Linked DNA regions of Homo sapiens: regions 1, 3 and 4 are each linked to region 2. Evidence: promoter capture Hi-C in 16 types of primary human blood cells and fetal thymus (Javierre and others, 2016). All regions are on one chromosome and are shown on one strand. The core of a region is centred on a gene start or on the middle of the fragment in contact, and the rest is flanking DNA. Distances in the headings are between cores, read along the strand shown.

What was found. The method cuts DNA at HindIII sites, captures the fragments that hold promoters and counts their contacts. A CHiCAGO score of 5 or more calls a contact.
Region 1: a fragment that was not itself captured here is called in contact with the fragment with the promoter of MIR1-1HG in region 2 in 3 of 17 cell types (naive CD8 T cells, neutrophils and total CD8 T cells); the score reaches 7.0 in naive CD8 T cells.
Region 3: a fragment that was not itself captured here is called in contact with the fragment with the promoter of MIR1-1HG in region 2 in 1 of 17 cell types (total CD8 T cells); the score reaches 5.2 in total CD8 T cells.
Region 4: the fragment with the promoter of BHLHE23 here is called in contact with the fragment with the promoter of MIR1-1HG in region 2 in 7 of 17 cell types (neutrophils, erythroblasts, activated CD4 T cells and 4 more); the score reaches 13.0 in neutrophils.

Annotation. Positions count from the first base shown.
Region 1 is chr20:62,811,383-62,814,764 of GRCh38, reverse strand. It overlaps OGFR (opioid growth factor receptor), which reads right to left. Exons shown (of 7, transcript NM_007346.4): 6 at 3,155-3,303; 7 at 765-2,535. The coding sequence ends at 1,116. Among named protein-coding and RNA genes, the nearest start is that of COL9A3, 4.0 kb to the left of the region's middle. The HindIII fragment of the contact is 7,148 bases long and covers 1-3,382 here.
Region 2 is chr20:62,548,630-62,552,135 of GRCh38, reverse strand. It overlaps MIR1-1HG (MIR1-1 host gene), which reads right to left and starts at 1,683. Exons shown (of 4, transcript NR_171007.1): 1 at 1,098-1,683. It overlaps CRMA (cardiomyocyte maturation associated lncRNA), which reads left to right and starts at 575. Exons shown (of 7, transcript NR_033263.1): 1 at 575-710. RefSeq lists an enhancer at 721-1,596. The HindIII fragment of the contact is 7,236 bases long and covers 1-3,204 here.
Region 3 is chr20:62,834,113-62,837,350 of GRCh38, reverse strand. COL9A3 (collagen type IX alpha 3 chain) reads right to left here. Exons shown (of 32, transcript NM_001853.4): 27 at 1,398-1,430; 28 at 1,018-1,164; 29 at 819-873; 30 at 86-268. Among named protein-coding and RNA genes, the nearest start is that of COL9A3, 19 kb to the right of the region's middle. RefSeq lists enhancers at 363-1,562, 3,086-3,238. The HindIII fragment of the contact is 341 bases long and covers 1,282-1,622 here.
Region 4 is chr20:63,005,310-63,008,470 of GRCh38, reverse strand. It overlaps BHLHE23 (basic helix-loop-helix family member e23), which reads left to right and starts at 1,507. Exons shown (of 1, transcript NM_080606.4): 1 at 1,507-2,544. The coding sequence starts at 1,697. The coding sequence ends at 2,422. RefSeq lists enhancers at 375-1,082, 1,083-1,788. The HindIII fragment of the contact is 10,733 bases long and covers 1-3,161 here.

The sequences.
Region 1 (3,382 bases), core at 883-3,382, 260 kb before region 2:
AGCTTCCCCACGCAGCTCTGGGGGATTATTGAACCTCGGGTGTCTCCTCCCAGTGACTTCCGGCTCGTGTATCCTGTGCCACCAGATGGGAGCTGGGCATTTTACCTGAAGTGGTACCAGGGTCTACAGCTTTAACCCTCCCACCCAGGGGTGCCCCAGGTCTGCCCTGTCCTTCACTGAGCAAAGACAAGTGTCCGGCCCCTCCTCTGAGGCCCCACAAAAAGCCCCTTACCCTGCTGATGTAGAAATGTAGGGGAACCGGGAAGCGGGGGGTCCTGGCCCAGGGTGACAAGGGCAGACTGCAGGGAGGGACTGCCCTGGGGGCACACCTGGCTCCACCAGACCTGAGGGAGCCAAGGGGCCCGCCAGAGAGTACTGCCAAGCCTGCCCGAGGCACAGCAGCGCATCCCAGATCACAGCAGGCAGAAAGGCCTGGTCCAGACCCCACCATGCACAAGCACTGCCCCGGCCAACCCCAAGGGAAGCCCCAGACTCATCTTGAACAGGTGGCAAAAGCCTGCTGAGGGACCTCGGTTCCACCTTCAGAGGCTCTGGGAGGCTGCAGCCTGCCCACCTGTTCATGCCTGGGGACTGTGTGGCCAAGTGGGTGTGTGGGGAGGGCTGGGCCACCACTCTGCCCCCACAGGCACCTGGTGGAGCAATGTGAGGCGGTCGCCGGGCCAGGCCACTGGAGCCTGGAGGGACATCAGCTGTGACACCAGCCCTACCAGCCACCCAACAGGACCCCGGTCCATACCAAAGACTCAAAGTCAAATGAATTTATTCAGAAAAGGCCTTGCTTGGTATCAGACTAAGAAAAGCAGCCCTGCCCGCCGCCCCCCACTCCAGAAGGGTCAATTTACAAAGACAGGGGCGCAGGGGAGAGCTGGGTGGGGAAGACACAGCCAGGCCAGGAGGCTTCTGCAGGCCTTGGGCTTCCCTGAGGGCCTCGCGGCTTCTGGTGGCTGCTATAGTGGCCCCACAGGAGGCCAGCACTGTGGGTCATGGGTCACGGGTCACGAAGCAGAGCCTGAGGGGAGCCCGCAGCAGCTCCGGAGGCCCCAGCCCCTGCAGCAGGGACAGGAGGACCAAGACGCCGACGGGCACTCCTTTCCTTAAGGCTTCCCAGACTTGGCAGAAGACTCCACCTCTGCGTCCTGCAACTCTGCTGCCTCCCCCGCCTTGGCTGGCTCATCCCTTGTAGGTCCTGCCGGGCTGGGGCCTGGGGTCTCCGATGGGCTCTCGGCTGGCTCGTCCCCTGCAGGTCCTGCCGGGCGGGGGCCTGGGGTCTCCGATGGGCTCTCGGCTGGCTCGTCCCCTGCAGGTCCTGCCGGGCGGGGGCCTGGGGTCTCCGATGGGCTCTCGGCTGGCTCATCCCTTGTAGGTCCTGCCGGGCTGGGGCCTGGGGTCTCCGATGGGCTCTCGGCTGGCTCGTCCCCTGCAGGTCCTGCCGGGCGGGGGCCTGGGGTCTCCGATGGGCTCTCGGCTGGCTCGTCCCCTGCAGGTCCTGCTGGGCGGGGGCCTGGGGTCTCCGATGGGCTCTCGGCTGGCTCGTCCCCTGCAGGTCCTGCTGGGCTGGGGCCTGGGGTCTCCGATGGGCTCCCAGGGGTACCTTCTTTGGGCCCCGTTCGACCTTCTGTGTCCTCCTCAACCCCGTTCTCACTGTGTCCAGCCTTGGGGTGCCCCGATGGGGCAGGGGACCCGGCAAGGGCCAAGGTCTGGGCACCACCACTGGCCACCGCAGCACTGTCCCCAGCACCCTCATCCACCTTCCTCCGCTTCCTCACCTTGTCGGCCACCCTGGCTCCCAGGGGTTGGCGGCAGGGCTGCACTGCCTCCCCAGGGTCCTGACCGCCCACTTCCTGGGTCCCCGTCCTGAGGCTGCCCTGGCTGAGGGCACACCCCTCCAAATTCAGAGCGATCTTCTCCACCTCTGAGGCACTCTGAGGGCCTGGCTCTGTGGGCGGCTGCTCCCGCCGGCTCAGCTCCAGCTTCCTCTTCTTGCTCTCTTTGGGGCTTAAGGGCTCCGGCCTATCTTCCCCGTGGCCCCCTGCCTCATCCCCCTGGCTCCTCTCCAGGGGTCCCGCATCCTGGGGCTCCACGCTCCGTGGCTGGGGCCCCTCGTCCACCCTGCCCCCACCCTTGCTATGCTCTGGCCCACAGGTCCGACCCTGGGTGCTGGCCTCGTGGTCGGGGTCCCCGGGGCTTCCTTCCTCCTCCACCTTCCTGGAGCCCTCGAGCGGATGGGGCAGAGAGCTGGGCTTGAACCTCCGCAGCTTGTCTTGGGGCCCCCAGACGAACTTGCAGCGGGGCCGGAAGTGCTCCCAGGCGAAGTGCACCAGCTGGCGGCGCTGGTGTCGGCAGCGCACGGCGAACATGAAGTAGTCCAGGGCACTCTGCCGCACCCCCGGCAGCTCCCGCCGCACCAGCGTCTCCTCCAGGAAGAAGCGGACCAGCGGCGCCTGGAAGTGCTCGAGGCCCAGCTCACCCAGCGACTTGAGGATGCGTGTGATGCGGAGGTTGTTGTGGCTGCGCCTGCGAGAGATCCGGGTCAGGAGAGGTCAATGGCTGGGGCCCCTCCTGCTGGGCCGCACCCCGCCCTGGCCTGCCCTCCCACCCGGCTCCACGAGGTCTCCCCACCCTGGCCCACGATTCAGTCTCTCTCTCCATTTACCTCTCTGGGCCCAGGGGAGGACTCATGCCATCCCTGTGAAAATGGCCTGTGGGCCCTAGACACACGGGGGTTAGGGGGATGCTGACGCATCACCTAGAGGGTGGCTGTACCCCGAGTCCCCCTGGTGGGGAGGAGCTGGCTGGATGAGAGCCACAAGGGGCCCCTGCAGGGTACAGGCGCCTCGAACACCCTGTGAGAACTGGCTGTACCGCCTGCAGGTTCTCCATCACCCCTGCTTGCTTCTCTATGTGGACTGCCACCTCCTGGGTGCAGGAAGAGCATTCTTTACCTTCTCACCAACCCTATCGGGGAGGGACCGCCCGGCTCTACAGGCAGCAAGGAGGGGACTCAGGGCCTTGGTCCATTGCCCAAACAGCCCTGGAGTTCTCCGTCTGCAGCAGCGCTCTGTGACCTGCCCGAAACCTGACGTGGCCCTGTTCTGCGCCGGGGTGGGGGTGGGCGGGAGCAGCCGGGCCTCACCAGTTCAGGTTCTGGAAGCGCTTCTGGTAGTTCTGTGCTCGGCCCACCGTGCCCGTGCCTCGGTCCTCCAGCCGGATCCCGTAGAAGCCCAGCATGAGCTCGTAGGCCCGGACAAGCCGCTCCTGGATCTCCTGGGAGCTTTTAAACACCTGGAAAAGACCCCCTTGGAGAGCTCAGGCACCATCCCTGAAGCCCCGGTTCCTGAGTGTGGGGGTGGCCGTGGGTCCC
Region 2 (3,506 bases), core at 434-2,933:
GCACCTGGGTTCCGCCGCTCATCTGTGCCCTCCCAAGACCTCCGCAATAACCGTCCCCGGAGTCCAGGGAAAAGGCCTCCTCAACGTCCCCAGCTCCCTGGCACATGAGCTCTCAGAGCCTGGGACACTCCCGCAGCCTGGCTCAAGCCCCCACGACCTGTGAGGCATTCATCTGGACGGGGTCTGGGGGTCAAGGGGAAAGCTGGGAGTCCCAAAGGGCAGGAGAGTCACCCCAGACCCAGCCAGAGTCCACAGGACTTCTGCCCACTCACAAATGAATTGTAGTCACTTTTCAAAAAGTTTCCCGTCTGCATAGAAAAAGAGCACCCAGCCGCCTCCAAGCAGACCCCACCGTGAGCCGAGCTGGCTCCTGTGCCCGGGGCCTCCTCCGGGGCTCTTCAGCGGTGAATACCGCCCGGCCCCCGGCATCAGCGCCGCGGGAGGCCACGCGGGAAGTCAAGCTCCCCAGCAGGGACCTGCACAGACGCCGACCACCAGGGCTGCTCTCCCCGAAGCCCCCCTAGTCTCCGCCCACATGTGCCCCCCGCCCCCCACCTCGCCGCCCTGCCCCTGTAAACGCCTCCTGACCCTGACGTGGCTGGGAGAGCTGCAGAAGTGCCGAGTCCCGGCCGGGGGCAGCCTCGCCGCCGCTCAGCTCGGGAATCCCTGCCCCCCACCAGCACCTCAGTGGGGGATACTGCAAGTTCAAGGTAAGTTTAGCCCCACGCCCGGCTGCCGGGGCTTTGTTGCGGAGCGGCAGGTGAATCGCGCCCCCAGCCCAGCCCCGAAGCCCCCATGCCATCCACTGCCCGCGTGGGGGGCCGCTGCTTTCTTGCAAAATGCCCGCAAGTCAAAGTTCCTGCCTCCCAGCTGGACGCGCCCTCCAGGCCCTGCCGGCTGCTGGCTCTGCAGTTTTCCAAATGTGGATGATGCCGCGAGCCAAGAGAAAACTCCACGGCACCCCCGCCGGAGCCGCACGGCGCCGGCACCCGCAGCACCCACCTCGCTGGCAGGCACACCCCCCACCGCGGTGCCCGGCAAGTTTGCAGGGGCCGTCCCGGCGGCCCAGCGGTGGTGATGGGCTGAGCAGGACTCACCGCGGAGCCCAGGGCACCCCTGGGGCCGGGCTGGTGACAGCGGCAGCGGCGGCGGGCGCAGGGTCGCGGCTCCCTAGGAGATGCTGCAGCGGCGGCAGCACCAGCCACCTCCTCCGGGAGCCAATCGCGAATGCAGGGGTGGGGGCCGAAGCTCGATGCGTCCGCACTTGGTGGGGGCAGAGAGAGAAAGAAGACACCAGGCACCCCCTCTCCACACCCCTGCCCTTCCCCCAGCCCTCCTGCAGCAGCGCAGACTTAGCAGGAGGGAGATCTTGAGAGAGAGAGAGAGAGAGAGAGAGAGAGAGAGAGAGAGAGAAGGCGCTGGTGCAGAGTTAGGGAGAGGCGGCCGAGCTGCACACCTTGAGCCCCGGCCTCCTCCGAAGGGAACCCCTGCACCCCAGCGGGGTCAGCACAAGGTAGAGAAGGTAGAGGTCAGGGTGGAACAAAAGGGAAGGTCCCGCGGGTGTGCACGCTCTCGCAGGCACACAGCCGGCTCGCGGAGACACAGGGGCGGGGGAGGGGAGGGGAGGGGAGGGGAGGGCCTGACCTGAGAGGCCAGAGCGGGCGTGGGGGCCCCCCTCGGGTCAGGAGCCGGCCTCACCTTTGCAGTTCTTATATACCCGGCCAAGCATCCCAAACACGCGGCCCTGGCCAAGTGGCCCCCTCGGGCTGCGCTCCCTGACCATATTTAGTCAAGCAGGGGAAAAAATAGCCTGTCAGCTGGGCCGCGGCTGGCCCGGCCACCGGGAACAGGGTGGGAGCACCCACGCCATTGACGGCGGGTCCCGGGCTCAGGCTGCTGTCCTGCCCCTCCCGGCCCCTCCCTGACAGGCCTCCCACCGGCTGTCCCTGCCCGAGATCCCCCCGCTATTTTTAGCCCAGCCAGTACAGAGGCGCCTCCTCAGTAGCCGGGCAGCAGCCTCCATGCCATGCCAGCCGGCTCCTAGGGTGCCCTGGGGAGACCCGGGCATCTCCCAGGCTGCAGGGCCGGGGGTGGGGGGGGCGGGCAGAATGGTACGGCCTCCTTCGCTGCTCTGAGCCTCCAGTGGGCTGAGCCCACCCAGGCCACCAGGAGTGGGTGGCCCCCTCCACAGTCCCATCGGCTCTGCCCTTTTGCCTAGAATTGGGGCCAGGATCAGGTGGTGACAGAGCCACCTGGGTTTCCGGAGACTCTCAAGCCAACCCCAAGTCATGACAAATGCCAGTCGCCTTGGACAGAGGCAAGGTCAACCTGCTTGCCGCCCCCAGCCAGGCCCTGCCACCAAGGGTGTGTGATGGGGAGACCCCAATCCCGGGTGCTGGACGGGCTCAGGAGCTCCCCCTTCCGGGATTTCACGCCCGAATTATGTAACAGACGAGGGCCTGGGACGGGGCCTGACGGGGATCTGTCCTTGCAGGGCCTGGACGCAGAGACCAGAGGCCTGAACTGGCAGACTGTCCTCACAGGCTGTGTGACGCTGGCTGGTCGTCCCATCTCTCTGGGGCCCCACAGGACTGGGGACCAGGTCGTGGAATGACAGTGGACCACAGTGGTCCGGGGACCCCGCTCGTTGGTGGCAGGCACAGGCCCGTGTGATGGGGACAATGAGCTTTGGTATTTGTGAGTCCTGTCCAGAGCATAGGTCCTCCTGTTCAGAAGCCACCTCATAAATGTCCCCAGTGCCTCCCGGACTTAGGAAGGCATCCCCTTGTGGTTCTGGCCAGTTAGGGACACAGGGCCGGGGAGTCTATGCCGCTCAGAACAGGCTCAGCTGCATCTAATCCCAGGGGAGCCCCTGAGGAGCCTGCACACCCCCCAGGCTGGCCCACAGGAGCTGAGGCAGGGCTCTCCTCCAGGTTCACCTCCTGGGCTCACGGCCCCTTCCCCACATCCCAAGGCCGGCTCTGCAGAGTCATGGGGAGAAGCCGGAGCCCCAGCCACACTCGCCACACACGCCGACACCCACTCTGGTGTCCTCCGGCCAGCGACAGCGAGGGACAGAGGGACGCCCCCTGCACCTGCCCAGTGCAGAGGCTTCTTGAGTGATGCCAGGCCCTTCTCCCAGCCCTGTACGCCCCGCTAAAGACCCCATGTCTCACCATAAAGGAGGCCAGGAGGTTTTAAGCTTCTACCTGGTCTGAGCACTTTTCTGGAAACTAAATAGCCACTCGGCTTCCCACTGGCAGCGGGAGAGCGTGGTGTGAGGTGTGGTGTCCAAACTCCCCCTGCAAGGCCCCTCCCCTGCAGCCCACTTCCTCCTGCCTGCCGTCTCCAGGCAGGGTTGAGGGGGGCAGGCCAGGCCTGCAGCTGGGGTCAGGGGCATAGACAGCCACAATGGGGGAGGTGGGGAGCAGTCTGCAGGCCTGGGCAGGCGGCTCTGTAAAGGATGCGGGTGCTTTGTGGTGGTGAGAGAGAGGGTATGCAGCAGA
Region 3 (3,238 bases), core at 203-2,702, 290 kb before region 2:
CAGGCACCAGAAGCAGCGCCTACTAACAAGTCAGTCTCAGGGATTTTTACAGCAGGGTGACCGTGTCATGGGGTCAAACACTCACCTCTGGGCCCGGGGTCTCCCAGCTCCCCAGTGGGACCGCGGTATCCAGGGGGTCCTCGAGCGCCAGGGTGACCAATGGAGCCTGGGGGTCCTGGGGGCCCAGGGGGGCCAGCTGGACCGGGCCGACCAATGGACCCGGGTGCCAAAGGCTTCCTTAGGTGCGCGGCTAACTGTGCAATTTGTTCTTTGGGAAAACAAGGGTGCAGGCGTTTACTCGAGAGAGGATCATCAGAAGTATTGTTACGTAAAGCATAAAATATCTACACGGTGCTGTCTTCCAGAAGCAAGTTTTCCTTCTGATTGATGGAAAATGGTTTAACTGCTTTGGGGTGATGAATGCTGGAGCTAGAAAGGACCCCCAACCCCTTGGAGCCTGAGAAGCCTGAGTGGGAAGGTGAAGGAAGTGCCCTTGGGGGTGTTTAGGGACCTGCCCTGCCAGCCACAGGGGCACACTCCGCTGTTCTTGTACCCATTGCATTCAGCAGGCTTTAGGGCGTCTGCTGCGTGCTGGGAATCTGGTTGAATCCGGGGCGGGAGCGTGGGCCATCCTCTAGCGCAGAGGACAGGCAGACGCCAAGGCGGACGTGGACCCCCAAGGGCTAACAGGCGGGGTGAGTGCTAGGGGCTCACTTTGGCTGGAAAGCAGTGGCACGAAGGCTTTCTGTGTAGCCCCAGGCACGGGACCCCCAGGCGGGGATGGGCCCCGCTGCAGCCGGTGCACGTGGCTGACTTACCGCTGATCATCCCCCCACACAGCTCCCTGATGCGCTGCTCGCTGGCCTCCTTCCCCTGGAATTCACCCCACACATTCGTCAGCATGGGGGCGGCAGCCTCGGTGAGGCATTCCCACCGTCACCCCGCAAAGTAACTTCCTTCCGGAAAAAACACGATCTCAACCCTGTGAAAGCTGGAAAAGCCGGAAAAGCGACGTACCGGAACTCCCGGCTTCCCCGTGATGCCAGGAACACCCGGGACGCCCTGCAGGCCCAGAGGACCGGGGGGCCCGGGGACACCCTGAACACCGCTGGTGCCGTTGGGACCCTGGGTGCCTTTGGGGCCCAGCTCCCCTCGACTGCCAGACTGCAGAGGAACAGAGGAAGGTGGGTCAGGGGCGAGCCCAGGAGCCCAGAGCCACCCCGACGTGCTCTTTCCCAGCCGGCACGGAGCCGTCTTGCCCAGCCTTGACCAGAGCAAGCTTTTTTACATCTCGGATCTGGGCAGTGCCCTGCAGGGCTGCCTGGTTGCCCAGAGGTGGGCAGGAAGCCAGCAGGCGCCCATGGATGGTGTCATCGGAACAGTCGCCGGGCACTCACCTCTCCTTTGGGTCCGACCAGGCCGCTGGGACCCTGTGAAGAGAAAAGTTGTGTGTTTGAACTAAGTGTATTGTTGGGTGGGTGGGAAGTAGCCAGTTGAGGATAAAATAAATCAAATCATCCACACACCTGCTATTAGACTACATCCAAATATTGACAGTGGTTCCTTCCGTTCTTCTATATACATTTTTTATATTTCTGTGATTGCACTGATTGATTGAAGCTTTTTAAAAACTTACTTTCCTGGGAAGAGTGACTTTGTTAGCTGCACGGTGCTGTCTCTTACACACGCTTACTTTGCTTCCATTCCTTTTTCTTACTAACACGCCTAATGCTGGGCTGAACCTCTCTGCCCTAAAACCCTGGAACCCCCTCCAGCTGGGTCCTCAGGAATGACTGGCCCCAGGTGCGTCAACACACAGTCAGCCGGGTTAATGTCTCCTCCAAAACACATGCTGCAATTGAACGGCCACTGCACTGCAATGCTATTAAGAGGTGATTAGGTTTGAGAGCTCGGCTCTCCGGAGTAAACTAACACCGTTGTCTCCGCAGTGGGTTCCTCATGAAAAGGATGGGTTGGGCCCCTTTCTCTCTCTGGCACCTCCTCTTGGCCCTTCTGCCTTCCACCATGGAATGACGCAGTGGGGAGGCCCTCGATGGATGCACCCCTCGGTCTTGGGCTTCCCAGCCTCCAGAACTAGGAGCCACATGGATCTCTTTCCCTTGTAAACTACCCAAGCTGCGGTGTTCTGTTACAGCTGCAGAATACAGACTGACACAGTCTAACCGCACAGCAGAGGGACCGACCGGGCCCAGACAGCATGCTCCGCGGAGGCCAGGAGGGTAGGGGGTCACCTCACACAGCCCGACCGTGCGAGTAGCTGAGAGCAAAGCCTTAGGTTTTCCGCCTGCAAGGGGCTCTGCCCCTCACCCCACCAGCAACAGTGGCCACGTAGGGCAGCTTCTGGGATTTCCAGGGTCCATTTGTCAGTGTTGTCTAAGAATTCACTAAATGGGCTGGGCGAGGTGGCTCACGCCTGTAATCCCAGCACTTTGGGAGGCCAAGGCGAGCGGATCACAAGGTCAGGAGTTTGAGACCAGCCCGGCCAACATGGTGAAACCCCATCTCTACTAAATACAAAAATTAGCCGGGTGTGATGGTGGGCACCTGTAGTCCCAGCTACTCGGGAGGCTGAGGCAGGAGAATCGCTTGAACGCAGGAGGCAGAGATTGCAGTGAGCTGAGATCACACCACCGCACTCCAGCCTGGGGACAGAGCAAGACTCCGTCTCAAAAAAAAATAAAAAAAGAATTCACTAAATGAAACACATACAACTGAGGTCTTTTGTCCCCAGGCATAAAAAGTTTACACTGGGCTGTGGGGGTCTGCCAGAGACTGGGGTCCCTGGGGCTAGGCTGTTTCTATTTCACCCAGACGCAAAGGAAAGACTTAATCATAGATGAAAACCCCCCTCGGGAAAGCCAGAAAGGCCGTCCTTCCCTCGGACTCACGACTGCTCCATTTGTTACCTCCAGAAGGAGAAATGTGCCTATCAAGGGACTCAAACAAGAACGTAATTTTATGCTTCACCTGAGTTTTAGGCCTGTGGAAGTGGAGTTTTCTTCAGTTAAAAACCAGCTGTGGGCCTGACACGGCGGCTCACGCCTGTAATCCCAGCACTTTGGGAGGCTGAGGCAGGTGGATCACCTGAGGTCAGGAGTTTGAGACCAGCCTGGCCGACATGGTGAAACCCCGTCTCTACTAAAAATACAACAATTAGGCCAGGGGCGGTGGCTCGTACCTGTAATCCCAGCACTTTGGGAGGCCGAGGCGGGCAGAT
Region 4 (3,161 bases), core at 258-2,757, 460 kb before region 2:
TGGCCACAATGACACCCACTCACCCTTCAGACCCAGGCCCAAACACAGCGGCCTCCTCCACACCAGGTATCCTCAATTCCCGGTCTGTGCATCAGCCCCGAAGGCGGGGTGGGGTCCCAGGACAGCGCCTCAGACAGACGCTTCCATCCTCGGGGCCCCTGCGCTCCTGGCGGGCGTGTGCTGGGGGTGAGGCCGGTGCTGCAGGACGCGCAGCCAGACAGGCCGCCAGCCCGGCAGAGGCTGCCTCAGACCCATTCCCCTCCGCCAGGACAAAGGCCTGAGTTTCCCACGGAGACTTATCCATGCATCTGTCTCCTCACACCCCGCACCTGGCAGGGAACCACCGGACAGGCCGGTCACTGCTGCGTTCCCAGAACCTTCCAGACAGCACATCCGCCCCACACACGTGCAGCTCCCACTCCCCTCCCGGGGCTGCGCACACTGCCCCATCGCTGTGGCTCCTCCTGGGGCGGAGCCTGGAGAACAGGGAGGGTATGCGGCCCTTCCCAGGTCACACAGAAGGGCCCGACGGGCCGCTCCACCTCGTGCCATAGGCCAGGGTGGCCCAGTCTCCCACCCAAGCCAGGACCGGAGAAGCCACTATCCCTCAGCACACTCTAGCCTCAGCACTCGGCCGGGCCTCCAGGCAGGTTCCCACCTGGGAGAAGGGCTGGGGTTCTGGCCTTCATGCGGGGTTGGAAGAGGACTGAAAAGGCGAGTCCGAGGCTGGCCACATTCCCATCCAGTGTGGCTGGACCCCAGGGGTTCGGAGGCTCCGGGAAAGCCCACCAAGCCTCACGCGTTTCGCTGATAGATGCCCAGGAAGCGGCTGGCAGGGAAGAGGCGGTCCTGCAGCTCACAGAGCTCCCCTCCCACCCCCGGGGAGCCCCAGGCCGCGCTGCCCTCCACCTTCCCGCCCTCCCCGGCCTGCAACGCTCGTGGCGTTTTTCAACAGGTTCTAGAAACTCCCTCTCACTCTGCCCCTCAAGCCTGGCCACAGGGCGCCCCGAGCAGGGAGTGTGCGGGCTCCGGGTACACGCTGCGCCGCGGCTGCACCAGAGCGCCCACGACCCTGACCCCGACCCGAAGCGGCCCCTCAGCGGGACAGGGTGTTGGCGCTGGCGCTGCTGCTATTGCGGCGCGCCCCCCCGCTCTGGCCCCTGCGTGTCGCCAGGGACTCTTGCGCTAGGGTCAGACTCAAAGACGGACCGAGGCGGGTGCCCACCTGGGACGCGTGCGTTTGGTGGCGGAATCCCCGGGGCGGCCGGAGGCGGCGGCCGGGGAGTCGAGAAGCAAGTACTAGCGCTCCAGGACCGCGCGCGCCGCCCCGCGCCGCCCCGCGCCGCCCCTCGGTCCAGAGCCCCCACCCCCGGCCTGTGAGCCTGCGGCGCTGGTGGAGCCCGGCTCCAGGAAGAGGAGCTCACCCGGTCCCCCCTGATTGGACAGCAGCGAGGTCCCACCGGGCGCCTCCGCGGCTTAAAACCGAAGCGGGGGCGAGGGGGAGGTAGAGCCCGCCCCCTGCGCGTCGCGGCTGGGAGGGAGAGGAGGTGGGAGAGAAGGAAGAGGCGGAGGAGGCAGCGGGCGCCGAGGCTCTGGGACCCGCAGGCAAGCCAGACCGACGCGCAGAGCCGGGAGCCTCATCGCAGCGGCAGCGGCAGCGGCGGGCTCGGGCCGGCCTCGGGGGCTGCTCACCCACATGAGCATCCGCCCACCCGGCGAGCCCCCGAGCCCAGGCGGCGCGGCCATGGCCGAGCTCAAGTCGCTGTCGGGGGACGCGTACCTGGCACTAAGCCACGGCTACGCGGCGGCGGCTGCGGGTCTCGCCTACGGGGCGGCGCGAGAACCCGAAGCGGCCCGCGGCTACGGCACTCCGGGCCCGGGCGGCGACCTCCCCGCGGCGCCTGCACCTCGCGCCCCAGCTCAGGCGGCGGAGAGCAGCGGCGAACAGAGCGGGGACGAGGACGACGCCTTCGAGCAGCGGCGGCGGCGGCGCGGGCCAGGGAGCGCGGCGGACGGGCGGCGGCGGCCGCGAGAGCAGCGGTCTCTGCGGCTCAGCATCAACGCGCGCGAGCGGCGGCGCATGCACGACCTAAACGACGCGCTGGACGGGCTGCGAGCCGTCATCCCCTACGCGCACAGCCCGTCGGTGCGCAAGCTCTCCAAGATCGCCACGCTGCTGCTCGCCAAGAACTATATCCTCATGCAGGCGCAGGCCCTGGACGAGATGCGGCGCCTGGTGGCCTTCCTCAACCAGGGCCAGGGCCTGGCCGCGCCCGTAAACGCCGCGCCCTTGACGCCCTTCGGCCAGGCCACTGTGTGCCCCTTCTCCGCAGGCGCCGCCCTGGGGCCCTGCCCTGACAAGTGCGCCGCCTTCTCCGGGACGCCCTCCGCGCTTTGCAAACACTGTCACGAGAAGCCGTGACCGCGCGGGCCCCCGGCCCTCCCGCACGCGTCCTCCGATCGCCCCTGTGACTGTCTCTCTGCCCGGACAGGAAAGGCCTGGAGGGACCCTGCAGACCAGGAGGAGGGGGCCCGACTTCGCTTCCAGCCTGTGCGCGGTGGACAGTTTAGCGCAGCGGGAAGCGCCAAGGCCGTCGGGGCGCGGGATTGAGCTCGAGAGCCGGACGCTGGACTCTGCGCCCGGGAACTCGCGGCACCCACTGGGTATTGTCGGGACCCAGCAAGTCTAGGAACGGGGGTGGGTAGAGCATCCTTCGGGCACTGCCGTTCGTCCCCAAAAGAAGACCACCGCGGGGTCCCAGGGCCACGGCGAGGACGGGCACTGGTCAGATTCCGGACAGGCGGTCCTGGCCCCGGGCGCACGAAAGGTGGAGACGAAGAAAAGCCGGACTTACTGGCTCCTGATCCTCTTGCAGTGGGCCTCGCGCTCCCGCTCCAGCCGGCCCTTCGTGCTAAACTGCAGGGCAGTGCTCTGTTCCTGAGGACGCGCGTGGCCGGCACCTCCCACCTCGGTGACTCCGAGACTCCGCAGCCCTGCGGAGAGCCCACGATGGCCGTCTGCAGAGGAGCTGGACCGCGGGCGCAGGAAGACCCCGGGGAAGGCCTTTTCCAAGTAGGAGTTTGTTCTATTTATTTGGGAATTGGACGCCGTCGCCGGCTGCCTCGAAGTCTGAGGAATTTGTCCCCTAAATGTCCCCTGG